Linked DNA regions of Homo sapiens: all the other regions are linked to region 2. The links are contacts of gene promoters, found by promoter capture Hi-C in blood cells and fetal thymus (Javierre and others, 2016). All regions are on one chromosome and are shown on one strand. The core of a region is centred on a gene start or on the middle of the fragment in contact, and the rest is flanking DNA. Distances in the headings are between cores, read along the strand shown.

Region 1 (5,516 bases), core at 76-2,575, 260 kb after region 2:
TCTGAGTTTGGCCAACCAGTCCCTTAACGTGTCTGGGGCATGTCGCTGTGTCCGTCTGCGTCTGTCCGTGTGTCCCCGTGGTGTGACTGTCTGCGTGGTTGTTTCTCTGTGTGGCCCCGTGGGCTGCTAGCCCCTAAGCCCTGCTCCCTGGGCCCCCCCCACCCCCGCCCCAGTTGGTAAACATAACCTGCCAAAATATTTTCTTTTTTTTTTTTTGTCTTTTTTTGTGTTTTTTTTTTTCAAGTTCAAGAATCCCCAGTAAAAATTCTCCACGAGGTCTTTTTCCCTTTTTACAAAAATAGAGTTTTTCTTCCCCTCCCACCCCCCTTTTTTTTTCATTTTGTTTCTGCTTCCAGCCCCACTGCCTGCTCCCCCGCATTCCACCAGGGGGCACTGGGCCGGGGGTGCCCACACCCCTCCTCACGGTTCGCTTTTTTGGGGATTTTTAAACCTGTTCCTCCTACCCCAGGCCCCACCTAGGTGCTGGGGAGGCCTGGGCAAGGGGGTCTGGGAGGGCACCCCCTGGAGCCCCCCAAGCCATCCCATCGGGGGTGGTCGAGGGTGGGGGTGGGGGCACATCTCTGCATTCTTTTTAGCCGAAAAAAGAAACAAAAACCTTCACCATGAACCAAACCAAGACGAGAGAGTGAACAGCCCAGCCTGGGGTGGGGGCAGGAGGATGGGGCGGGGGATCCCCGGGCACCCCCCCAATTCCCTGCAGACCCTCCCACCCCAGAGTGCTCACCCTGTGGCTTCCGCAGGGACGTGGGGCCCTCGCGTCGTCCGTGGGGCTGCCTGTGCTGTCTCTCTTGGGCCCCTTCTCTCTCTCTCTCTCTCTTTCTCTCTCTCTCTCTCTGCTGCCCGGGGAGGGGGTGGGAGGGCAGGCGGGGTGGGCTCACGCCTTGTGCTGTTTGCTGGTCTTGAAGGAGACCTGCAGCACGCGCTCGCCCAGGCGATAGCCGTTCAGGCTGGCGATGGCCATGGCCGCCTCGTCATAGTTGGTCATGGTCACGAAGCCGAAACCCTTGCACTTGTTGGTGGTGAAATCACGGATGACCTTGACGTTGGTGACTGCCCCAAAAGGCCCGAACAGCTGCCACAGCACGCTCTCGTCTGCCTCCGGTGACAGGTTGTACACGAAGATGCACCAGCCGGCGCCCGCCGCGCCCCCCGACAGGCCCACGCCCGCCAGGCCGCTCATACCATCGATGGCGATCGGCGAGAACCTGGCGATGAGCGACAGGGGACTACTTTGGGGGTCACGCGGGCTCTGCCCTGACCCCCCGCATGCTTCTGACCCCGTTGTGACCCTTCACACCTTTATGACCCCTGACTGTGCCATGACCTTGGAATGGTGTGACCCCTGCAATGCAATTTTTTTTTTTAGAGACACGGTCTCGCTCTGTCACCCAGGCTGGAGTGCAGTGGTGCAATCATGGCTCACTGCAGCTTTGACCTCCTGGGCTCAAGCAAACCTCCCGCCTCAGCCTCCTGAGCAGCTGGGACTGTAGGCAGGCGCCCTCACACCCAGCTAATTTTTTTTATGATTTGTGGTGACACAGTCTCACTATGTTGCTTAGGCTGGTCTCGAACTCTCAGGCTCAAGCAATCCTCCTGCCTTGGCTTCCCAAGTAGCTGGGACTACAGGTGCACCACTATGCCCCACTAATTTTTTTTTTTTTTTTTCTGAGACGGGGTCTTGCTCTGTTGCCCAGGCTGGAGTGCAGTGGGATGATCTCAGCTCACTGCAACCTCTGCCTCCTAGGTTCAAGCGATTGTCCTGCCTCAGCCTCCCGAGTAGCACCTGCCACCACGCCCAGCTAATTTTGTATTTTTAATAGAGATGGGGTTTCTCCATGTTGATCAGGCTGGTCTCGAACTCCCGACCTCAGGTGATCCGCCCGCTTCGACCTCCCAAAGTGCTGGGATTACAGGCATGAGCCACCGCACCCAGCCATGCCCCGCTAATTTTTAAAAATTTTTGTAGAGGTGGGGTCTCGCTGCGTTAGCCAGGCTGGTCTCGAACTCCTGGGCTCAAGCAATCCTACCACCTTGGAGTTCCAAAGTGCTGAAATTACAGGTGTGAGCCACTGCACCCGGCTTTCCTTTTCAAATCATATATTTATTATCATCAACTTCATCTTCCCTGCAAGAGTTTGTTCCAGCCCCTGAACAACACCTAGTAAGCACTTGGGAGGTGTCTGTTGAATGAATTAATGAAAGGACAGAATTGGCTCCACTCACATTCCTCACTGGCAATCCCGCCCTTGGATTAAACCCCTCAGCTGGGAAGGGAGGACCCAAGGGCCTGAACCATTCAATCCTGACCACGAGGAACAAACTACTCGCTCCTTCTGGCCCTCTTTGCACAGGCTTTTCCCACTGCTAGGAACTCCCTTTCCACTCTGCCTTTGTGTGGATGTTGCCTCAGATGGGACTGGGGGGTCTCTGCTGCTGGGTCTCCGTCACCCCTTCTTTTTTTTTTTTCTTTTTGAGACGGAATCTCACTCTGTCGCCCAGGCTGGAGTGCAGTGGCACGATCTCAGCTCACTGCAACCTCCGCCTCCTGGGTTCAAGCAGTTCTCTGCCTCAGCCTCCCGAGTAGCTGGGATTACAGGCGCCTGCCACCGTGCCCAGCTAAATTTTTGTATTTTTAGTAGAGATGGGGTTTCACCATCTTGGCCAGGCTGGTCTTGGACTCCTGACCTCGTGATCCGCCTGCCTCGGCTTCCCAAAGTGCTGGGATTACAGGCGTGAGCCACCGCGCCCGGCCTCTGTTACCCCTTCTACTTCACAGCTTTCATCACCATTCATTTCTCTGTCTCCTCCCCCACTAGACTCAGACTGAGATCTTCTTTTACATTTTTTAATTATTTTTTTTTTTTTGAGATGGAGTTTCGCTCTTGTTGCCCAGGCTGGAGTGCAGTGGCACGATTTCAGCTCACTGCAACCTCCTCCTTCCATGTTCAAGCGATTCTCCTGCTTCAGCCTCCTGAGTAGCTGGGATTACAGGCATGAGACACCGCGCCCAGCCACATTTTTTAATTTTTGGAGATAAGGTCTCGCTCTGTCACCCAGGCTGGAGTGCAGTGGCACCATCATAGTTCACTGCAGCCTCCAACTCCTAGGCTCAAGCGATCCTCCCGCCTCAGCCTCCTGAGTAGCCTGAACTACAGGCATGCACCACCGTATCAGGCTAATCCTTAAAAAAAAATTGTAGAGAAGGATCTCACTATGTTGCCCAGGCTGATCTTGAACTCCTGGCCTCAAGTGCTCCTTGCCCCTCAGCCTCCCGAAACACTGGGAGCACAGGCGAGAACCACCACGTCTGGCTTTGATGTCACATCTCTCAATGGCCATGCTACTCCAAGACCCAGGCAAACAAGGCTAAGCCTGCAGCCCTGGGGGTGAGCTGGGGAGGGGTGCATCAGGGGCATGGATGGTGAGGGGTGGGGACAGTGGGGCGGGGTCACTGTTACCTCTTGACGCCGTAGGCCATGTTGAGCAAATTGTCCAGCCTGTGGAGGCAGAGGTGGTGGTCAGAGGTGGCTTCCAGTCACGCCCCCCTGCTGTGACACCGTCGGCCTGCCCTCCCCACCCCCACCCAACAGGCCTGCAGCAGAGCCCTGCCCCCGCCTGCCTGCTCCCCGCCCGCCCGGCTAGACACTGCCTGGCACGGAACCGTGGTCACTCAGGCACCGCCTCTCGCCTGCCCCACCGCTGTCCAGCCTGCACTGGCCTCCTCATCCATCCTCCCCCTCCTGGCTGGCGGGTCCCCTCTGGGCCCAGGCGCTGGGATCCCTGGGGAAAGATAACTCCTAACAAAGGCGACAGTAACTACCACAGCCAACATTCTCGCAGCACTTGAGGGGGTGGGTAACTTGCCCCGGCCACCCGGGGGCCCACAAGGGGCTTCCATTGTCTCCCCTTGGAGTGGCTATGAGCTTGGACTCCAGGTCCTGGGTTTGAGTCTCTGCTCTGTTTGGGCCAGGCAAACCCCAACACCTCTCTGTGCCTCAGGGTCCCCGTCCATAAAACAGGGACAACACAAGCTCTGTTCTCATCGGGTTGCAGAAAAATAAGGGTGTCTAGCACACAGCAAAGACTCATGAAATATTTGGTGTTATTACAGATGGGAAACTGAGGCACAGAGCTACAGCCACGTGCCCAAAAGAGAAAGGGGCCACCAGAGCTGGAACCCAGATGACGCCAAAATCTTTTAACACCAAGAATGCCAATCGTCGCGGCCAGCACACATTGAGGGCCTGCTGTATATGAGTGGCTGGCCTTGGCACCTGACAGATAGGCTCCTTGGCTCCCATGTGTGCGCACCCTCCCGGCATCCCTCCCTTCGGCAGGAATGGGGTTCAGGGAGGGTTGCAAGCTTGGGGGCACCCGGCCTGGGGCCATCTGGCTGGCAGGGGGCTCACCGGAAACGCTGGGTCTGATGGTGTAGGGGGCCTGCGTAGCGCCGGGCGGATGACTGGTAGAGGTGGGTGAGCAGCGCCTGCCCCGTCTTCTGACTTGGGTTGTTCGCGAACTTGACTGTGATGGGCTCAGCTGCGCCCAGCGGCTTCTGCCCATTCAGTCCTTTGATAGCCTCTTCGGCCTCAATCCTCTTGTCAAAGCGGATGAATCCCACACCCCGAGAGACACCTGCCAGGGGGCAGGGATGTCCATCACGACGACCCTGTCCCCTCCTGTGTAACCCCACTTCTCCCTTCCCTGCTTCATGCCCTGGCATCTTGGTCGGTTTCCCCACGTTGGTCCCACCTGACTGCCTTTGCCCAGCGCCCCCGCCAGGTGCACCCTCCCTGACTGCCTGACCTGTGACCTGGTCCACCAGGATGCGGGACGTGATGATGCGGCCGTACTGGGAGAAGAGCTGCTCCATCTCTTTCTGGCTCATGGTCTTGGGGAGCCCGCTGACGTACAGGTTAGCATCCCGGATGGATGCTGAACTGGGTCTGGCATAGGACACCTGGGTGAGGGGGTCAGATGGACAGGGGTGAGGCAGAGACCCATTTCACAGATGGAGAGAGTGAGGCCATGTCTAAACCATCACGGAGTTAGCAGAAGTGACCCATCCGTCACTCAATAAGTATCTCTAGAGTTGTCACCGTGGGGTGGGGCTGAGTCAGATATGGGAGAGGGGACATGGCAGTGGCTGTAACAACTTGGACTGCCTGTATAGAGTGATGGGGACCTGCCACCTAGGGAGGACATGTCTCCCTGGGGTGACATGTGACCCCAAAGGGATCCTTGAATAGCCGGCTCACATCACTATCACATGCTTGACAGTCCATCAACAAACATTGACCTTTTTTTTTTTTTAAAGACAGGATCTCACTTTTTTACCCAGGCTGGAATGCAATGGTGTGATCTCAGCTCACTACAGCCTCGACCTCTTGGGCTCAAGCAATCCTACCGCCTAAGCCCCGCAAGTAGCTGAGACTACAGGCGCCCACCACCACGCCTGACCAGCATTTTTTTTTTCTTTTTTTTTTTTTTGAGAT
Region 2 (4,450 bases), core at 272-2,771:
AATAGTATAGTAACAGTAATACTAACATCAACTCTTTTTTTTTTTTTTTTCTGAGACGGAGTTTTGCTCTTGTCGCCCAGGCTGGAGTGCAATGGCGCGATCTCAGCTCACGGCAACCTCTGCCTCCCAGGTTCAAGCGATTCTCCTGCCTCAGCCTCCTGAGTAGCTGGGATTACAGGCACCTGCCACCACGCCTAGCTAATTCTGTATTTTTAGTAGAGATGGTGTTTCTCCATGTTGGTCAGGCTGGTCTCGAACTCCTGACCTCAGGTGATCCGCCCGCCTTGGCCTCCCAAAGTGCTGGGATTACAGGCATGAGCCACTGCACCCAGCCTAACATCAACTCTTTTAATTGTCATGACAATTCTATGAGATGGGCACTTATCGCCCCGTTTCACAGACAGGGGATGCAGAGGGTACAGAAAGGTACAGTGGCTTCCTCGGGGTCACTGGGGCCATGGGGAAGTGGCTGGGCCTGAACATGAACCTAAGCCTGGTGGATCCCCCCACTGCCCACCAAGCCACCACCCTCAGACTCCACATCAGATATCTCTACCCGTTTCCCAGATACGGAGACTGAGGTCTGAGGGTACTCAGTCATCTCACCGCCCTCGATGAGGACCAGCACGTCCCGAGTAAGGGGAAGAGAAAGGAGACGAGGGGGTGTGGTGGGGGAGATGGATGTCTGTGGCTGAGACCCTTCTCTCGCCATGGGACCCCTGGGGAATGGGGAAGGGGTGACAGGATAAGACAGAGATGGAGAGACTGGAGCCTATAAGAGGGGACAGGTAGGGAGCGCAGGGAAGGGGCGCGGGTCTCCCCAACCCACCACCCAAGACCGGCCTGCACATCGCGGAGGTCGGTGGTGGTGGTGGGGGGGGGTCTTCCCGCCCCAAACTCGGGGTGGGGGGAGGCGAGAAGGACCCCGCCCCGTGCAGAGAGGGGGCGGGGCCTGTGGGATCCCGGGCTAATGGCAAACAGCTGCCGCTCCCCACGCCGGCCCAGCCGCCAAGCCCAGGCCCAGCCCGGCCGGACGCCCGGCCGCCTTCCCGCCGTCTGGGGCATGGCCGCGGAGGAGGGCGAGGGGGGACAGTGCGGGGAGAGGGCAGAGCCGGGGAGGAACAGAGGCAGAAAGTGGGACAGAGACAGGGGAGAGCGGGCAGAGGGGAGCCAAGACAGGAGAAACGGGCAGGGCACGAGGAATCGATGGGGGGTACTGGGAGGAATCGATGGGGGTATGGGGTCAAAGACGAGGAGGGGGCAGGGACGCGGGGACAGACACTCCAAGTCTGGAAAGTTTGGGCACAGAAGGTGGAGTTGGAGGCAGCGGCTCGTTGAGACCAGCGAGGTCGTGTCCCAGGGTTGGAGGCGGGGGGTAGGGTAGTAGGTGTGTGTGGAGGGGGTGCACACTCGATCCCCGAACCAGACTTGAACCCCTACCCAGCCCCGGGTCCCACTCGCCTTGCGCGCTCCGGCCGCTGCCTTCCCTGGGTCCCGCCGCCCGAGCGTCTTCGCGCGCGCCGCAGCCTGGGCGCCCGGCCCTCGGAGGTGGCTCCGCCCGCACCACGCCCCCTCCGGCTGGTCCCGCCCCCCCAGCCGGCACCGCCCCCTCCAGCCGCCCGGGCGCCCCGGCCGCGGTGGGGGGTGGGGATGGAGAGACGCTGGTTGGAGACTGGATCTCACCTGGACAGCAGGTGTGTGTGCGCGCCGGGGTGTCCGGCCTCGTCCTTCCTTCCTCCCTAAGTCCCCGAGGCAGGGTCCTCCCACTGCCGGCCTCCCCCCCACCGCCTGCTGTCCCTGGGCCGCTGCGGGGGGCGGAACGGCTCGGCGGCGGGAGGGGGTGGAGCTGGCCGGGGCCCAGCTCGGGGAGGGCGCGCGGGGCGGGCGCGGCAGCGGGAGGTCACCCCTCCCCCAGGCGGCCCAGGGCTGGAAGCGGCCCAGCGCAGTCCTGGCACACGGTGGCGTGACCGCCGCGCGAGAAGGGAGGCTGCAGAGTCCTGGGCGCCGGCGCCAGCCAGACCTGCATTCCCATCCCAGACCCACCAAACTTTTGCTGCTCTGTGCCTCAGTTTATTCATCTGTAAAATGGAGATGATCATGTTAGCTACCTGATAGGAGCGTTGAGAAGATTCACTGACCATTAGGAAGGGGCCTAACCATCAGGAAGGAGGCCCTTCGGGTTAAAAACTCTCATAAATGGAGTGGCCTACTTTTGCAGAGATCTTTCTGGGAGCCCTTTTAGTACACAGCCAGCCACTCAGCAAGGGCTTAATAAATATTATTAAGCCGGCGAGGTGGCTCACACCTGTAATCTCAGTGCTTAGGGAGGCCAAGGCAAGAGGACTGCTTGAACTCAGGAGTTCGAGACCAGCCTGGGCAACATAGCAAGACCCTGTCTATGCAAAAAAATTTTTAAGTGAAAAAAAATTAGGCCAGGCGCAGTGGCTCATGCCTGTAATCGTAGCACTTTGGGAGGCCAAGGTGGGCGGATTATTTGAGCCAAGGAGTTGGAGACCAGCTTTGGCAATATGGTAAGACGCCATCTCTACAAAAAACAAAATACAAAAAACCACCTGGGGCCGAGAAATGGCTCATGCCTGTAATCCCAGCACTTTGGGAGTCCGAGGTGGGTGGATCATCTGAGGTCAGGAGTTCAAGACCAGCCTGGCCAACATGGTGAAACCCCTTCTCTACTAAAAATACAAAAACTATCCTGGCATGGTGGTGCACATCTGTAATCCCAGCTACTCGGGAGGCTGAGGTATGAGAATAACTTGAATCTGGGAGGTGGAGGTTGCCGTGAGCCGAGATTGCACCACTGCACTGCAGCCTGGGTGACAGAGTGAAACTCTGTCTAAAAAAAAAAAAAAGAAAAAGAAAAAAAAGCCAGGCACAGTGGCATGTGCCTATAATCTCTGCTACTCAGGAGGCTTGAGCCCCGGAGTTTGAGGCTGCAGTGAGCTATGACTGTGACACTGCATTCCAGCCTGGGGGACTGAGTGAGAGCGTCTGTTAAAAACAAACAAACAAAAACCAGGTATTGTTATTGCAGGTAAGCATGTGACATTATTTGTGTGTTGCCTTCCCTACTAGAACATCAGCTCCACAAGGGCAGGAATTTTTGCCTGTTGTCACCACGATGTCCCTGGCACCCAGTATGTTCTTGGTGTCCCCATTGATGATGCAGGGATGTGTGGATATGGGGCAGTGGACTGTGAGCATGTGATGAGCATGTGACCCAGCCCCTAGTGACCGCACCACATGGCACAGGTTGCTTATAAAAACCATTTTAAATTAAAAAAGGGAGGAAGCATCAGTGCACACAGATGGGGACACAGGGGCAGAGGGCCCAGCCCCAAGTACAGTGTGGTCACCCCACAGCCCAGTGGGCACCAGGGCAGACTCCCCTCGCAGCACAGACAGCTGAGGCCCGGGTGCTGGTTCCTCTAGGTACAGCTTTGGTCCTTGTGGGCTCAGAGGTCTGCCTTTCGGAAACTTGCTCTGTTCAAGGAGTTCCTGGAAAAAGAATGAGGGTGGGTCAGCATGGCCATGGGGCCCCCAACTCCATAGACCTCCCAGCCCACATCCTCTTCCTCCTCCTCCTCGTCTTCCTCCAAGGATCCTTCTGGGATCTCTCCTGTCCCTGATCTGGCTGTGGGATTCTCCGATTCTCTCTTGCAGTCCACCACGGAAGGTATGAATCATCCCCATTTTACAGATGTAGAAACTGAGGCTCAGAAAGATGAATTCATGTATCTGGGAAATGACTGCTCAGAGCCTGCCCTGCCTTTGTACATCTGGATGACATATTCAGATGCTTATGCAAAATTGAAGCCACCGCAGCCAGGCGTGGTGGTGGCTCATGCTGTAATTCCAGCACTTTAGGAGGGCAAAGCGGATGGATCACCTGAGATCAGGAGTTCGAGACCAGTCTGGCCAACATGGTGAAACCCTGTCTCTACTAAAAATACAAAACATTAGCCAGGCGTGGTGGCAGATGCCTGTAATCCCAGTTACTCAGGAGGCTGAGGCAGGAGACTCGCTTGAATCTGGGAGGCGGAGGTTGCAGTGAGCCAAGACTGTGCCAACTGCACTCCAGCCTGGGCAACAGAGGGAGAGTCTCTCAAAAAAAAAAACAAAAAAAAAACCGGAAACAAAACAAAGTCCAAGCTACCAGCAAACATGTTGCTGTGTATGTGTACAACAGCCCCCATCCTGTACCTGTCCTGGTCTGCCTCTGCATCCCCTCTCTAGTCTCTAGGATGGGGGCACTAGGTCAGGCACCTGAGGCCGGGTGGGGTGGGTGCCATCAGCTGGGGCAGGCGCTGGGTAAGCAGGGGCTGCAGAGCCTCCCGCAGGCGGCAGTAGTTGCGCTCCAGCTCACGGTGGTACTCCTTCTGGTCCGGCCCAATCAGGGCCTTATTTTTCCGCAGCGCATCCTCACATCTGA
Region 3 (5,629 bases), core at 131-2,630, 380 kb after region 2:
CAGCCTCCCTAGTAGCTGTGATTACAGGCACGCACCACCACGCCCGGCTAATTTTGTATTTTTAGTAGAGACGGGGTTTCTCCATGTTGGCCAGGCTGGTCTCCAATGCCCGATCTCAGGTGATCTGCCCACCTCAGCCTCCCAAAGTTCTGCGATTACAGGCGTGAGTCACCATGCCTGGCCAGTCTCCTGTTTTTTTAAAAACTTATTATTTAGCCGGTGTGGTGTCTCACACCTGTAATCCTGGCACTTTGGGAGGCCGAGGTGAGCGGATCACTTGAGGTCAGGTGTTCCAGACCAGCCTGGGCAACATGGCAAAACCTTGTCTCTACTAAAAAGACAAAAATTAGCTGGAGGTGCTCTCTTGAACCCAGGAGGCAGAGGTTGCAGTGAACTGAGATCATGCCACTGCACTCCAACCCAGGAGGAGGAGGTTGCACTGAGCCAATATCATGCCACTACATTCCAGCCTGGGCGACAGAGCAAGACTCTGTCCCCCCCAAAAAAAAAACAGAAAAAAAAAAAAAGAAAGAAATCTGAAGCAATTATGACCAAATGTTAACATCTGTTTCTTCACGTGGTGGGTACAGGCGTGTTTTGGAAGCTTCTATGCTTCCTGTATTTTGAGATCACACAAAATTATGTTTATTATCTTATTGTGCTACATGATCTTTGTAGAAAAGTTGGTAAATTCTGGAATGCACGAAGAAAAAGATTATAATAGCCAGTAATACCCCTGCCCAGAGAGACAGTATCCATTAATTTTTCTCTGCCTATGTTTGTCTTCGGAAAAATGGGATACTATTGGCACTATTTTATAACTTTTTAATTTGTATTAACACTTTCTATATTTTTTAAATTGAAAAAGCTGGCCAAGCATGGTGGCTCAGGCCTGTAAACCCAGCCAATGTGGGAGGATCGCTTGAGCCCGGGAGTTCAGGAACAGCCTGGGCATCGTGGCGAGACCACATTGCTACAAAAAAAAAAAAAAAAAAAAAAAAAATTAGCCAGGCATGGTGGTGCACACCTGTGGTTCCATCTACTCAGGAAGCTGAGGTGGAGGATCGCTTGAGCCTGGGAGTTTGAGGCTGCAATAAGCTACGAATGCACCACTGACCTTCAGCCTGGGCAACACAGCTAGACTCTTGTCTCAGAGAGAGAGAGAGAGAGAGAGAGAGAGCACAATGAAAAAAATAAACCTGATCTTGCACAGAGCATGTAATAAAACCTGTGCGTTCTTGGCTATCTCTCTCTGGTCTCCTCCAGGGTGCTGAATAAGCTCTTCTCTCTCCATTCACCCAGGAGAACTCTCTTCTGCTGATTTTCTGTGGAGCTAGATCAGGCTGTGACTCAGAATCTCCCTCCACCTCCACCCTTTCCTATTTTCCCAACACCAGTGTCAATCTCAGATGTCAACAACCCCACGAGTGAGTTCCTCCTGTTGCCAATACATCCAGGTCCTGTTCTCCGCTGCTGTCTCTACCCAATCCCTTCCCTTCCTTCCTCCTGCCAATCCTGCTTTCCCTGTTTCTTGCTCCTCTGACCTCCTCCGCATTGCTTGACTGTCTCAGATACACTCTGGCCTCAGGGTCTTGGCACTTTCTGTTCTCCCTGCCTGGAAGGGTCTTCCTTAGTCAGATACTGAGGTCACCCATTGTGTTCAAGTTCCTTTAATTTATCTGAAATGAGTCTGGGCGTGGTGGCTCACGCCTGTAATCCCAGCACTTTGGGAAGCCAAGCCGGGTGGATCACTTGAGGCCAGGAGTTCGAGACCAGCCTGGCCAACATGGTGAAACCCCATCTCTACTAAAAATACAGAAATTAGCTGGGCGTGGTGGCACAAACCTGTGGTCCCAGCTACTCAGGAGGTCGAGGCAGGAGAATTGCTTGAACCTGGGAGGCGGAGGTTGCAGTGAGCCAAGATCGTGCCACTGTACTCTAGCCTGGGTGACAGAGTGAGACTCTGTCTCAAAAAAAAAAAAAAAAAAAGAAAAAGATAATTTATCTGAAATTATCTGAAATGCACCACCCTGCCCCCATCATTGACTCTCCTGTTGCTGTAGTTTTCTCTGCAGCACTTACCAGTGCTTGAGAAAACCACCCACTCATTTATCTTGCTTTCAGTTTCTCTTGCTTTCAGTCTGTCTTCAGTTAATGAAAGCTTTTTTTTTCTTTCTTTTTTCTTTTTCTAAAACAGAGTCACCCAGGCTGGAGACCAGTGATGCGATCACGGCTCACTGCAGACTCGACCTTCTGGGCTCAGGGGATCCTCCCACACCCCTTGGCCTCCTGGGGATTGAGACTACAGGCACACACCACCACACCCAGCTAATTTTTGTATTTTTTGTAGAGAGAGGGATTTGTCACCTTGTCCAGGCTGCTCTTGAACTCCTGAGTTCAAGCAATCCTCCCAACTCAGCCCCTCAAAGTGCTGGGATTACAGGTGTGAACCACTGCCCCTGGCCTGTTTATTTAAAAAATTAACATTCATTCTCAGTTTATTGGCTAAGTTTAGAAGTAGTATCAGAATGTTTAAGAGAACTTACTGTTCTCCTTTTATTTGTATGTTTGCATTGTAGATTTTTAATAACTGATAAGGACTTCTCAAGGTGTTTGCTTGGTGGAGACATTTAAAAAGATTAAAGAATAGGCCAGGTGCAGTGGCTCATGCCTGTAATCCCAGCACTTTGGGAGGCCGAGGCGGGTGGATCAAGAGGTCAGGAGATCGAGACCATCCTGGCTAACATGGTGAAACCCCATCTCTACTATAAATACAAAAAATTACCTGGGTGTGGTGGCACGTGCCTGTAGTCCCAGCTACTCAGGAGGCTGAGGCAGGAGAATCGCTTGAACCCGGGAGGCAGAGGTTGCAGTGAGCTGAGATCGCACCATTGCACTCTAGCCTGGGTGGTAGAGCAAGACTCTGTCTCAAAAAATAATAATAATAAATTAAAAGATTAAAGAATAAGCTGGCACAGTGGCTCACACCTGTCATCCCAACACTTTTTGTAGAGACCTCATCTCTTAAAAATAAAATTAGCTGGGCGTGGTTGTGTGCACCTGTAGCCCAGCTACTCAGGAGGCTGAGGTGGGAGCATTGCTCAGGAGGTCGAGGCTGCAGTGAGCCATGATTGCACCACTGCACTCCAGTCTGGGTGACAGAGCTGATACACTGTCTCTAAAAAATAATAATAATTGACCGGGCGCAGTGGCTCACGCCTGTAATCCCATCACTTTGGGAGGCCGAGGCGGGCGGATCACGAGGTCAGGAGATCGAGAGCAACATGGCTAACACGGTGAAACCCCGTCTCTACTAAAAATACAAAAAAATTAGCTGGGCGTGGTGGTGGGCGCCTGTAGTCCCAGCTACTCGGGAGGCTGAGGCAGGAGAATGGCATGAACCTGGGAGGTGGAGCTTGCAGTGAGCCAAGATCGCGCCACTGCACTCCATCCGGCTTGGGTGACAGAGCGAGACTCCATCTCAAAAAAAAAATTAATAATAATAATTATTATTATAGTAGTAAAAGAGTATAGAATAAAATGCATCACACTTATAAAATGTAAAATGTTAATTTCAATCCACTAAACTTATAAACGGACCCAAATATGCATCCAATGACCTCTTAAAGTGATATTTCTTTTTCTTTTTGTTGAGATGGAGTCTCACTCACTCTGTCACCCAAGCTGGAGCGCAGTGGTGTGATCTTCAGCTCGTCCCAACCTCCGTCTCCCAGGTTCAAGCGATTCTCCTGACCTCAAGTGATCCGTCTGCCTTGGCATCCCAAAGTGCTGGGATTACAGGCCTGAGGCCAGGCCCTGAATTAATTTTTTGATGTTTCACTTTGCCAGGTGTATAAGTAACATGTTAGTTGTGATTGTAACTAAATAAAGGCTTAAGGGAAACCGTGTTTCTAAATTTCTAAATTGACTACACATTTACAAAGGAACCCACAAAGATGGATTTTTGGGCCGGGCGCAGTGGCTCACGCCTGTAATCCCAGCACTTTGGGAGGCTGAGGCAGACAGATTGCCTGAGTTCAGGAGTTCAAGATCAGCCTAGGCAACAAGGTGAAACCCTTTCTCTACTAAAATACAAAAAAATTAGCTGGGCATGGCAGCGAGCACCTGTAATCCCAGCTACTTGGGAGGCTGAGGCCGGAGAATTGCTTGAACCAGGGAGGCAGAGGTTGCAGTGAGTCGAGATCACACCACCGCACTCCAGCCTGGGCAACACAGTGAGACTCGATCTTAAAAAAAAAAAAAAAAGATGGACTTTTTCGGGGCCCCAAGGCTTCAAAATTCAAAATGCTGTCATGAGTTAGTTTGATTTGAGGAACCAAAAATTGGCTTTTGTGGCTGGAGCAGAGTGAGCAAGGGGGAAGTGAATCCGGAAGGTTGAGTCTGCAAGGTCAAGGGCAAGGAACAGAGAAGGGTGTGGGTGGGGCAGGTTGCGTGTGCTCTTGGGGGCTGCAGGGAAGGGGGCTTTTATCTGGGTAAGGTGGGAGCCACAGAGGGTTCTGATCAGAGGGACAGATCTGACTTAGATTTTGCATGATGTCCCCCAGCTGTGGGCTGCGGGGCATGGGCTGCTGAATAGGTGGTTTAGGTGGGCAAAGATGGGTCATGGTGCCCCCTACCCTTTAAAAATTAAAAGACAGGGCCAGGAGCAGTGGCTCACGCCTGTAATCCCAGCACTTTGGGAGGCTGAGGTGGGCGGATCACCTGAGGTCAGGTGTTTGAGACCAGCCTGACCAACAAGGTGAAACCCCATCTCTACTAAAAATACAAAAAAAATTAGCTGGGCGTGGTGGCAGCCACCTGTAATCCCAGCTACTCGGGAGGCTGAGGCAGGAGAATCGCTTGAACCCGGGAAGCAGAGGTTGCAGTGAGCCAAGATCGTGCCACTGCACTCCAGCCTGGGCGACAAGAGCAAGACTGTCTCAAATAATAATAATAGGCCGGGTGTGGTGGCTCACACCTGTAATCCCAGCACTTTGGGAGGTTGAGGTGGGTGGATCACTGGAGCCCAGGAGTTTGAGACAAGCCTGGGTGACACAGTGAGACCCCATCTAAATTATTATTATTATTATTATTTGAGACAGAGTCTTGCTCCATCACCCAGGCTGGAGTGCAGTGGCGCGATCTTGGCTCACTGCAAGCTCCGCCTCCCGGGTTCACGCCATTCTCCTGCCTCAGCCTCCCAAGTAGCTGGGACTACAGGTGCCCGCCACCACGCCCAGCTAATTTTTTGTATTTTTTAGTAGAGACGGGGTTTCACCATGTTAGTAAGGATGGTCTGGATCTCCTGACCTTGTGATCCGCCTGCCTTGGCCTCCCAAGGTGCTGGGATTACAGGCGTGAGCCACCATGCCCAGCCTGAATTTTTTTTCTTAAAGATTAAAAAGGCAGAGCCTCTCTGCTCCTCCCATTTGACAGACAGCCACATCTTTTCATGCAGTGAAAAAGGCATGTCCCCGAGACACCGTGGTGAAAGTGAAGACAGGAGTAAATGGATTTGGCCATATTGGGTGCCTGGTCACCAGGGCACCAGAGCTGCTTTTAACTCTGGCAGAATGGATGTTGTCACCTCAATGACCCCTTCATTGACCTCAACTACATGGTCTACATG
Region 4 (5,230 bases), core at 403-2,902, 280 kb after region 2:
GAAAAAGGGGCCCGGAAAGAGACACAATGCACAGAGACACACACGCAGAGACGGAGAGATAGGAAGAGTGGAAGAGGGAGGCCCAGGCGCCGGGACCAGACAAAGGACGCGCGGCGGCGCGGGGAGCGGAGTCGCGCGGCAGGGGCGGGGGTGGAGCCGGGGTGGGGCTATAACTGGCCAGCCCCGCCCCCGGGATACGCCCGGGCTGCCGAGTGGGAATCCGAGGGCTCGGGCGAGGCCGGGCCCCCGGGGCCCTGGGGGCGGGGCCTAGATGGGCGTGCCCGGGCGTGGCCAGGCAGGGCGTGGCAGGGCGGGAGGGGCTGCGCGCTCGGGAGCTGACCAGCTCCGTGGCTGCTGAAAGCACCGAGCGCGGGGCTAGCGGTGCGGGCGAGCAGGCGGGCGGGCCGCGCTCAAGGTCACCTCGCGGCCCAGAGCCTTGGCGAGGTGGGGAGCCTGGACCTGGCCTAAGGGGGCTGTCTCGGCCTCCCACCCCATCTCCCGGGGGGCGGAGACCCGGGAGCCCAGAGGTGCCCCCCCAACCCGCGGGCCCTCCTCTCCCCTCCCCCTCCCCGCAGCCCGAGGCGCCCGCGCGAGGCTGCGGCCCGCGAAGAAGCGCCGAGAAACAAAGGGACGCGGCAGCAGCGGCGGCGGGCCCGCGGGGCCTCCGGGCGCGCCCCCTCCTCTCCCCTCCCCGCTTGCCGCAAGGTCGACGGGCTCGAGGACGAGACGCCCGCCTCCCGGGTGCGGCCGAGGCCCGGGGCGCGCGATCCGACGCCACCCGCTTTCCCAGGGCTCTCGGGGACGCTTTGTCGCTTTGGCTTGGCCCAGCACCAGTGATCGGGCCCTGCGTTTGCCTGGGCGGCCTGCGGGGTCTGGGCCTGGATGGAGGAAGCATCCTTAGCCGCCGCGGCCCCTCCCCCATCAGGCCTGCTGGAGAGGGGGCAATCCCGCCTCCAGGGCGGCGTCGGACGCCTCCCGAATCGCAGTCAGTCTCCCTAAGGCCCTCTCAGACCAAGCTCTAAGCGCCCTCAGCACTCTGGGCGCGGCCCTGCCCACTCTCAGGCCCCGAGGCTTGGTCCTACCCCCCCAACCCGGGCCTAGCTAGGCCTGGTCCTACCCCCCCCGCCGCACCCGCCCAATCTCCGCGGAGCCTGGGCCCAACTCCTCCCCGTCCCGATTCCCTTTCGGCGACAGGGGAATACCTACAGTGACCATTCTTGTGTGCCCGGCGGGCGCGGTCCGTGTTGAGGGGGGCTCCGGGGGTGGTGCACTCCTAGGGGGGCGCCCGATGCTCACGCTGGGGTCCCGCCCGGGCGGCCTCTGGTGCGGCCGCTGCAGATGTGGCGATGAAGGCGGCGGCTCCCTCGAGGGCCAGGGACGGGCCCGAACCCGGGGATGCGCGCGCGGATGGCCGGGCCCCGGGGTGGCCTGCGGGCGGCAGGGGATGGAAAGAGGGAGCGGGCGCGGGGTTGAGGACGCCCCCTGCGCGGCCCCGCGGGGCCCGGGGAGGTTGCGCTTCCCGACAGAGATCGCGGCGCTCTGCCTTTCGCCGCCGCCCCTCGGTCGGTCCTGTCCGGTCCCGTGTGTTCAAGTCCTCTCCCCTCGCCCACCCTCCCTCCCTCCCTCCGGCCCGCGCTGCGCGCTCCGCGCTCTGGACCGCGCCGCCGCCGCCCCCAGCCCTTTATAGCAGCAGCTGCCAGCGCCGGCGTCGCTCATTGGCTGCGGCGACCGAGCTCCGCCTCCTCGCGGCTCCCGACGGCGCGGCAGGTGGAAGTGAGCGCGCACTGGTCGGGACTCTGAATCCCCCAAAAGCGCATCCTAGGTGCTCGGGTTGCCAGATTTGGGCCCTCCTTCCCTCGAGGCCCTTGCTTCCTACCCTGGCACCCCTTCTTGGGCTGGCTTTCGGGCCAGGAGACGGGCTCCCCTCCTCCGTCCAGCTCCTAGAGCTGGAGGAGCCAACAGAGCGAGGAGGTATTAGTGGCCTGAATATGCGACCTTCCAGAGGTGTTGTCCACTGAGGGAACTGGACAGGGGATCAGGAACCAATATTTTAGTAGGCAGAGGCCTGGGTCCCCAGATTTGGAGGCACCAGTGTAGACCACCTCAAGACCACGGGGGAGGGTGGCTACTGTGGCCCTAGTCTTCTGCAGAAGGAGACTGGGACGCTGTTGGTTTTGAGTGAGCTGGATCCTTCTAGGGTTCAAAAGGTAAGGACTGGCACTCCCCAGTGCAAGGAAACTCCGCACTGCTCCGAAGGGGGTGAAAAGGTTTGGGGCTCAGTGTTCTGGACAATCATCGCTGGAGCCATGCAGCTCTGGGAAACCACGGATCCTTCTTGGACCCCACAGAACTGGGGTGGGTGGATCTGCCACATAAATGTCCTGGCTTTCTAGGCTCGTGATTGGTCCTCCTGACTGTGGAGTCATGCTCGCTCTCTGCTAGGGGGAACCTGGCCTCTCTCTAAGGCGTTGGGGGTGGCGCAGCCTCCTTTGGTGCGCGGGCGCCGGTGCATGTTTACGTCGGGGCGCGGGAACTAGCACACACTGGGGCGGGGTCGCCAGGGCGTGAGGCTTCAGCACCACAGACAGCAATCCGACAGTCCGGTCGAGGGCGCTGCCGGCGAGGTAGCCCAGACCCCCTAACTGGAGAGCGGCAGTCCCCACCCAATCCTCGTTCCTGCACGCCCTTTAGGCTCCAGACTGTCAGAGAGCGCCACCAGCGAGGAGAGCCTAATTTGCCCAATCAGGGGCGGCCCTTGAGATAACCAGTTACTGGAAGATGCCCTAGAGATCGAGCCAATGGGAGTGCGCGCACCAGGGGATGCTGCCACGCCTGGAAAGGGCAGGCCAATCGCAGTGGCCCGCGCAATAGGGGCGGTGGCGGTGCAGATCCCCGGGTGGCCCCTCTTGGGCTCGCCGGGGCGACCTGGCTGCGGGCGCTAGGGGCCCCAAGCGATGGTCTGTTCCCCACCCCGTGTTCCTCCCGGTTTCCGTCATCGGAAACTGAGCTAGGAGGGGGGCTGCTCCTGGGCGCGCGGACCCCGCTGCGGTTCCCATGGAAACCTGCCGGCTCCGGCAGTGCGGGGAGAGTGGAGGGGACCTGCCTCGCGGGGGGAGGGAGCTCGCGGGGGCGGCCCCAGCGGCCGGACTCGCTCATCCTTGCCGATTCTTCTGTCCCCGGCTGGGGTAGCCCCCCGGTCCGCAGCAGGAACTGAGGCATAGCTGGGGCCCCGCCTCATCCCCCGAACTGGTGAGGAACCGGCGGGGCCAATCTGCGCGTGGCGCCACAGGGCTCCCCCGGGCACGTGCCTGAGCTCGCGGCTGCGGTCCCCAGGGTCACGTGGCTGCGGCCACCAGGGCCTACGCGCCTCGCACGCCACCTAGCGGCCGCGCCTCGCTCCCCGCCCCTCTCTCTAGCGGCCCGCAGGAGGCGGCGGCCTCAGCATCCTCCTCCGGGAAATGGGGCCAGGGCAGCCGCCGCCAACTCCCCTTCCCCCCGCGGCTTCCTGTTTTAGGAACACGCCGAGCTAGTTCTACCTCGGGGTTTTGGCACTGGTTGTTCCTCTGGCCTGAGAATTTCCTCCCCCAGCTTTCTTCTGGGATAGATCTTTGTCATTCTGGTCTATGCGCAAATGCCACCTCCTCAGAGGCCCTCCCTGACCACCGACCTAAACAGCATCCCCGGAAAACAACGCATCACTCTCTCTTTTGCATGGCGCTTGTCGCTAGCTGCAAATGTTTCTCATTTTAGGGGTTTACTGAACACCTCCCCATCTCATCCCGGAGCTCACTGAGGGTGGGAGATGGGTGCCCCATAAAACAGGAGGAAGTGGAAATTAGGGTCCTGAGTTCCGGGAGATGCCCAGAGACCCCAGACCCCCAAGCCTCACCCCATCCTGTGGGAGCAGGGGCTGTGCGAGGCTGCTGGGCCCAGGGGCATCCCTCGTTCCCTGCCTCGCTTAGGAAGGGATCAAGTAGGCTGGAGACAGAGAGGGGCCTGGCACCCCAAATCATTCAGGCCTAGGGGAAGGGCATCTCCTTTCTCGCTCTTTAATCTCACTCTGCTCTCTTGACACAGTTCCAGCAATGCAGCCCCAGGCACCAGCTCCGAGAAGGATGCGGTGGGGCGGGGTGGGGAACCTGCCCAGGGGGCCCAGCTCTGGGGCGGGGCGGGGGCGCCTCCTTCCGGCCCGCGGTCCGGGCGGCCCTCGCAGCTGTCCAGGCCCCGGCAAGCCCGGGCGTGGTGTCCGAGCGGACGAATAAATAGGGGCGGTCAGTGGTCAGGTGGGTCAGGTGGGCTTGTGATCCGGGTGGCTTTTGAGCGTGTGGAACTTGACGCTGTCCAGCTTCTCGAAGCGCTTCCCGCAGCGATCGCACGTGAAGTTGTACTGCACCTCCGCAGTGTGCTTCTTCATGTGCCAGTTGAGCGACGCGCGCTGCCGGCACTGGTAGCCACAGATCTCGCACCTGCCGGGAGCCCGTGGCGGGACGGGGCGGGGTCAGAGTGGGCGGGGCGGGGCGGGGCCCTACAAGGCCGAGCGCAGGTGGAACCGGGCCCAGACACTGCGTTGGGGCGAAGCCGCCCCTGGGACCTGCTGGGATCCCCTCCCACCCAATCCTCTAGCGGCACGGGGCGGCCTGTCACTCACTGCAGGGGGGTCTCGCCGGTGTGGGTGCGCCGATGTACCTCCAGGTGGTTCTTCCTCTTGAAGGACTTGCCGCAGGTCTCGCAGGTGAATTCACGGACACCTGGGGGCGGTGGGGACCGAGGCTGAGGACGGTGGGCTATGGGGTGTCTCTGATGTGCTGCAGACTCTGATGCTAGAAGGAGCATCAGGCTGTCTCCTTGGATCTCCCAGGACTGCAGGTGCAGGCCGACCAAACCCTACGTCCTTCCCGTGCATTTGCCCACAGACGCCATCAAGCAGAACTGAGATCGAACTTGGGTCCCTGAGAGGCATAGGGTGCACACTACCAAGCCAACATGGGTCTGAATTTGTCTTGTGTGTGTGTATATATATATTTTGCGACGGAGTTTCGCTCTTGTTGCCCAGGCTGGAGTGCAATGGCCCGATCTCGGCTTACCGCAACCACAACCTTGGTCTCGCGGGTTCAAGCGATTCTTCTGCCTCAGCCTCCTGAGTAGCTGGGATTACAGGCATGTGCCACCAACCATGCCCAGCTAATTTTGTATTTTTAGTAGAGACGGGGTTTCTCTATGTTGGTCAGGC
Region 5 (5,502 bases), core at 59-2,558, 340 kb after region 2:
GAGAATTGAATGGATATATGTACAGAGTTGGAACATGGCCTGACATAAGGGCTGTAGTCTGTGGCATATTGCAGCCATGCCATTAGCATGTGACCGATAAACTGCATATCCTCAACATATCATTAGTGTGTGGCAGGTTGCAGACATGTCATCCAAGTGTCACAAACATGGCCTTGCCATGTGGGGCATGATGTGGGCATAGCATCCACCCCTGTGGTCCAGGGGTGAGATCTGGCTGGGTAGGGCTGTTTGACAGGGACACAGTTCACGGCCTGGGACTTGCCAACAAAGTCACCCTGTAGTTCAGGTGACACACAAGTGGATGGGGAGGGTGAGACCCAGGATCTCTTCTCCCCCAGGTCCTTATGAGGGGCTGGAGGAGACAGAACTGGGGTGCTGGACCCTCAGCATAAAGAATGCTATAGGCTGGGCATGGTGACTCATGCCTGTAAATCCCAGCGTTTTGGGAGGCCAAGGCGGGCAGATTGCTTGAGCCCAGAAATTTGAGACCAGCCTGGGCAACATAGCGAGACCCCGGGCAACATAGCGAGACCCCATCTCTAAAAAAATAAAATAAAATTAGCCAGGTTGGTGGCACAAGTCTGCAATTCTAACTACTTGGATGGGCTGAGATGGGAGGATCACTTGAGCCTGGGAGGTCAAGGCTGCAGTGAGCTGTGATTGTGCCACTGCACTCCAGCCGAGGGGACAGAGTGAAACCTTGCCTTAAAAAGACTGCTATGGCCCGAGTCCCTCTGCTGTGCCGGGCACTGTGCTGGGCATGTAACAGGCATATTCTTCTGATCTTTACAACTCTCCCATGAGGCAGGCACTATCGTTAGCCCATTTTACAGATGTGGCCATAGAGGCCCAGAGAGGAGAAGGGGCTTACCTAAGGCTATAGACTGTTGGTATCTGGAGATAAACCCGGGATGGTGCTCACTAAACTACCTTGGGTGTCAGTCCTGCTTCAAGACTCCAGAGAGATAAAGAGAGATGACCTCAGAGACAAAGAGACTCAGACCCAGCCAGAGGCCCAATGGACAGTGGGAGGGGTGGGTGGAAGAAGGCTGGTCTCTGTCTGACCAAGCCCCCCCAGAATAACGCAGGCTGCCCCCCTAGGTGGAAACAATGACACAATCAGCTCCCAATACCAAGGGCCTGACATCACAAGGGGAGGGGAAGGCAGCTGAGGTTGTGGGGGGAGGTGCCCCGCCCCTTGGCAGGCCCCTACAGCCAATGGAACGGCCCTGGAAGAGACCCGGGTCGCCTCCGGAGCTTCAAAAACATGTGAGGAGGGAAGAGTGTGCAGACGGAACTTCAGCCGCTGCCTCTGTTCTCAGCGTCAGTGCCGCCACTGCCCCCGCCAGAGCCCACCGGCCAGCATGTCCTCTGCTCACTTCAACCGAGGCCCTGCCTACGGGCTGTCAGCCGAGGTTAAGAACAAGGTAGGGCTGGAGGGCCTCCCTGGCCTGGCCCACACGTCCTGCCAGGCCAGAGCCCTGAGCTTGGGGTCCCTTGAACCCCCTCCTGCCTATCCTATGTGACTTGGAAACTGAGAGGGGAAAAGGGAGTGATATGGGATAGGGGCTGCCTGTCTCCCCCTGAACATCCCGGAGCCCCCAGCTATGGTTGGGGCTGGAATGGGGGGGCACACAGCCACACATAAACAGAGGGGGTCAGTCCATTGCAAAGATACCCACCTGATCAGTCTTCTGTTAACCCTTCGTGTTCTTGGGGGGAACAACATAGGGGGAAGACTTGTTGATTTTTCCATATCCCCCGGCCTGACAAAGAAATTGGGGAGCGCTTGAGTGCTGGGGTACCTGGGAAGTGACGCCGTGAAAGTGTGGGAGATCCTGAAGACAGAGGGGGACGGTGAAAGGCAGGAAGCGGGCATCAGAAGTGCGGCAGGGGTCTCCTGACTGTGGAGCTAGGAAGATACCTGGACACCACCTTCATGCTATGGTTGGGTAAACTGAGGTTCGGAGAGGAGAGGCAAATAGCTGGGGTCCCAGGTAAAGCAGGTACAGCGCTCGGACCCTGGACTCACCCCCCATACACCAGGATGGGCTCAGCTTCTCCCAGCTGGAGAACTTTAAGTTTCCAGCCCACTGGAATCGCCCCAACAGTATTGCCGAGGGAGGAGTTCCTGCCCCATTTGACAGAGGGGAACACTGAGGCTCAGGGTGGCTTTTCCCAGGGTCCCATGGTGAGGAAGTGGGGGACTGGGTTGGAACCTGGGTCGAGGGATCTCGGGGCTGGAGGAGGGGGCTGGTGGGGGGCGGGTCCTCGGGCGAGAGACAGATCCCAGCGCCGCCCTCCTCCCCCCCAGCGCCGGCCCCAGAGCCGCGCAGAGCCGCGCAGAGACGCCGCGCCTTATAAGGCGGCCTCGGGGAGCCCGGGCCACGCTATATAAGGGCCGGTTTGCTTTATAAAGCCGGGCTGGTGGCGTGGGGGGCGGCAGGGCCAGGGCCAGGTGAGGGGGCCGCCCCTCCCACCTCCCCCCACTCACCCGGGAGAAGAAGAGGCAGCCCGGTCCCCTAGGGGCTGGGAGCCTGGCTGGGCTTGGGCGGAGGGTTCTGGAGAAATGGGAGTGGAGTGGGGGAGGGGGGGGACAGTGGAGAGAGGGAAAAGCAGGGAGGTGGGGGGAGAGGCAGACAGAGATACTGGGAGCCTGAGACACCCTAGGGACAGACGGGGGAGGGCGAGCCAGGAGCGAGATAAGACCTAGACAAGGATGGAGGGGCAGGGAGAGGAGACAGAGCCCCACCACCCCCACCCCAGGCAGGAAACCTGGAGACAGAGAAAGACCTAGAGAGGCAGATATACAAGACCCAGGAGCCCTACCCCTGGCCAGACAGGGACTAGCCACCTAGAGAGATGGGGACCCAAGACTGGGCCAAGAAAAGACAGCGCTGGGGAAGAGAGAGACAGAGGAGTCGGGGGGATAAGAGGGAGAGAGACATACAGACGTGCAAGGGGTGGGGGCTAAGACAGAGACAAGCCCCCACCACTAACCAGAGACAGAGCCCTGGAGCTGAAGACCTGGGGGACACGGAGAGACAGAGATGTATGACCAGCACTCCTCTGCAAGCCAGCACCCAGGGACACCTCCTTAGACATCCTTCTTCCCTTCCTGAGGTGCCCTCTCTTCCAACAGGGGGCACAGAGGGGGCAGGGCTAGAGGAAGAGAAGCCCCAAGTTTGGCCTGGGCGAAAAACCAGGGTGCCGGGTGCCACCCCTCTAGCTCAGAGGATCCAGCTCCCCACACCCCACCCCTCATCTACATTCCCTGGTGCCAAACCTCAGAATGCCCGGAATGGCCCCCTGGGCAGGTGCCACCTCAGCCCTGGCTCTCAGCCCGCCCCAGCCCCCATCCCCCAACTATGGATCTGGGGCAAAATTGCCTTAGTTGGGAAGGACGAGGGAGATCAGGCTCTAGGAAGTTCAGACAGGACCCAGGGAGCCCAGGCTGCCCCCAATGCATCCTCACCCCTTTCTCTGTGCCCCCTGCCCTCCCCTCGCCCCAGCTGGCCCAGAAGTATGACCACCAGCGGGAGCAGGAGCTGAGAGAGTGGATCGAGGGGGTGACAGGCCGTCGCATCGGCAACAACTTCATGGACGGCCTCAAAGATGGCATCATTCTTTGCGAGTGAGTGAGGCTCTCGAAGCCGAGACCCTGCAACATCCCCCAACTCCATGCAGCCCCTCAACCCCCAAAACAACCATGATCCTGGAACTGAGTTGAACACTTTCTATTGGATACCTTTGGGGTGGCCAGTAATCATTGTGCCCATTTAACAGGCACAGAAAACTGAGGCTCAGGTGAAATGCATTGCACCAAGTCCCACGTGGTTTCAAGGGAAATGACTCTAGAATCTTAACCACCATGCTATATAGGGTAGGCCCATCTGTGGCCGCCAGAGTCCCCAGAAAGAGCGGTCACAGCTAAAAGGCAGCAGCCAACAGCTGTTCATGGCTGGCTTGGTGATGTGAGGAGAGATGTGCAGCAATAATTAAAGGAGGCCCTGGTTTTCTTTCTGTTTTCTTTTTGTTTTTTTGAGATACAGTCTTGTTCTGTTGCCCAGGCTGCAGTGCAGAGACACAATCTCGGCTCACTGCAACCTCCGCCTCCAGGGTTTAAGTGATTCTCCTGCCTCAGCCTCCCCAATAGCTGGGATTACAGGCACGCACCACCATGCCTGGCTAATTTTTGTATTTTTTTAAAGTAGAGATGGGGTTTCACCATGTTGGCCAGGATGGTTACGAACTCCTGACCTCAATTGATCCACCTACCTCAGCCTCCCAAAGTGCTGGGATTACAGGCACGTGCCACCATGCCCGGTTAATTTTTGTTTTTTTTTTTTTTTTTTCAGTAGAGATGGAGTTTCACCATGTTGACTAGGCTGGTCTTGAACTCCTGACTTCAAGTGATCCACCTGCCTTGGCCTCCCAAAGTGCTGGGATTGCAGGCACATGCCACCACGCCTGGCTAATTTTTGTATTTTTTTTTTTTTTTTTTAGTAGAGACAGTGTTTCACCATGTTGACCGGGCTGGTCTCAAACTCCTGACCTCAAGTGATCCACCTGCCTCGGCCTCCCAAATTGCTGGGATTACAGGCATGAGCCACCTCGCCCGACCTTCTTCTTCTTCTTCTTTTTTTTGAGATGGAGTCTTCCTCTGTCACCCGGGCTGGAGTGCAGTGACATGATCTCAGCTCACTGCAACCTCTGCTTTCCGGGTTCAAGTGATTCTTGTGTCTCAGCCTCCTGAGCAGCTGGGATTACAGGTGCCCACCACCTTGCCCGGATAACTTTTGTATTTTTAGTAGAGACGGGATTTTGCCATGTTGGCCTGGCTGGTCTCGAACTCCTGACCTCAAGTGATCCACCCGCCTTAGTCTCACAAAGTGCTGGCATTACAGGCATGAACCACTGCACCCTGCCGGCCCTGGTTTTCTCCTCGCCTCAAAACCTCATTGCTGAGGGAGGTGAAAACCCTAACAGCTCCCAAGCCCCAGTTCCACTGCAATCTTTTTTTTTTTTTTCAGATGGAATCTTGCTTTGTGACCCAGGCTGGAGTGCAGTGGCATGATCTTGGCTCACTGCAAGCTCTGCCTCCCAGGTTCAAGCAATTCTCCTGCCTCAGCCTCCTGAGTAGCTGGGATTACAGGTGCCCGCCACCACGCCCAGCTAATTTTTGTATTTTTAGTAGAGACGGGGTTTCACCATGTTGGTCAGGCTGGTCTCGAACCCCTGACCTTGTGATCCACCCACCTCGGCCTCCCAAAGTGCTGGGATTATAGGCGTGAGCCACCGCGCCCGGCTCCACTGCAATCTTAATGCATAGCAGGGCCCTAAACCCAGCCTGCGCCCGATCTGCATTTGAGTCTGACCCAGGGCAGAGTGACTGTGAGTGGCCTCGGGAAGACTTTGAAGGTGCAGCTTCATCAAGTCCTAGATGCTGGGAAGAAGGGGTGTGGGGGGTGTTTACCTTGT

What was found. The method cuts DNA at HindIII sites, captures the fragments that hold promoters and counts their contacts. A CHiCAGO score of 5 or more calls a contact.
Region 1: a contact is called between a fragment that was not itself captured here and the fragment with the promoter of KANK2 in region 2, in 3 of 17 cell types (neutrophils, erythroblasts and M0 macrophages). The highest score is 7.1, in neutrophils.
Region 3: a fragment that was not itself captured here is called in contact with the fragment with the promoter of KANK2 in region 2 in 1 of 17 cell types (erythroblasts); the score reaches 5.4 in erythroblasts.
Region 4: a contact is called between the fragment with the promoter of ELAVL3 here and the fragment with the promoter of KANK2 in region 2, in 1 of 17 cell types (neutrophils). The highest score is 6.1, in neutrophils.
Region 5: a contact is called between the fragment with the promoter of CNN1 here and the fragment with the promoter of KANK2 in region 2, in 4 of 17 cell types (M0 macrophages, neutrophils, erythroblasts and 1 more). The highest score is 10.4, in M0 macrophages.

What each region holds. Positions count from the first base shown.
Region 1 is chr19:11,453,631-11,459,146 of GRCh38, forward strand. It overlaps ELAVL3 (ELAV like RNA binding protein 3), which reads right to left. Exons shown (of 7, transcript NM_001420.4): 4 at 4,828-4,981; 5 at 4,431-4,656; 6 at 3,480-3,518; 7 at 1-1,247. The coding sequence ends at 896. Among named protein-coding and RNA genes, the nearest start is that of PRKCSH, 21 kb to the left of the region's middle. RefSeq lists a silencer at 240-421. The HindIII fragment of the contact is 6,113 bases long and covers 1-4,382 here.
Region 2 is chr19:11,196,024-11,200,473 of GRCh38, forward strand. KANK2 (KN motif and ankyrin repeat domains 2) reads right to left here and starts at 1,522. Exons shown (of 13, transcript NM_001136191.3): 1 at 1,462-1,522. It overlaps DOCK6 (dedicator of cytokinesis 6), which reads right to left. Exons shown (of 48, transcript NM_020812.4): 47 at 4,285-4,446; 48 at 3,272-3,516. The coding sequence ends at 3,474. RefSeq lists a silencer at 1,386-2,005. The HindIII fragment of the contact is 22,502 bases long and covers 1-4,450 here.
Region 3 is chr19:11,579,762-11,585,390 of GRCh38, forward strand. It overlaps LOC124904638 (a long non-coding RNA gene), which reads left to right. Exons shown (of 2, transcript XR_007067140.1): 2 at 3,656-3,903. It also overlaps the pseudogene GAPDHP76. Among named protein-coding and RNA genes, the nearest start is that of ACP5, 4.9 kb to the left of the region's middle. RefSeq lists enhancers at 2,023-2,222, 4,124-4,263, 4,274-4,333 and a silencer at 2,358-2,523. The HindIII fragment of the contact is 1,557 bases long and covers 603-2,159 here.
Region 4 is chr19:11,479,394-11,484,623 of GRCh38, forward strand. ELAVL3 (ELAV like RNA binding protein 3) reads right to left here and starts at 1,653. Exons shown (of 7, transcript NM_001420.4): 1 at 1,207-1,653. The coding sequence starts at 1,215. ZNF653 (zinc finger protein 653) reads right to left here. Exons shown (of 9, transcript NM_138783.4): 8 at 4,649-4,748; 9 at 4,036-4,466. The coding sequence ends at 4,289. RefSeq lists silencers at 171-365, 2,740-2,989, 3,020-3,459. The HindIII fragment of the contact is 20,383 bases long and covers 1-5,230 here.
Region 5 is chr19:11,537,543-11,543,044 of GRCh38, forward strand. It overlaps CNN1 (calponin 1), which reads left to right and starts at 1,309. Exons shown (of 7, transcript NM_001299.6): 1 at 1,309-1,448; 2 at 3,534-3,655. The coding sequence starts at 1,386. RefSeq lists enhancers at 280-1,225, 3,999-4,118 and a silencer at 2,285-2,334. The HindIII fragment of the contact is 23,519 bases long and covers 1-5,502 here.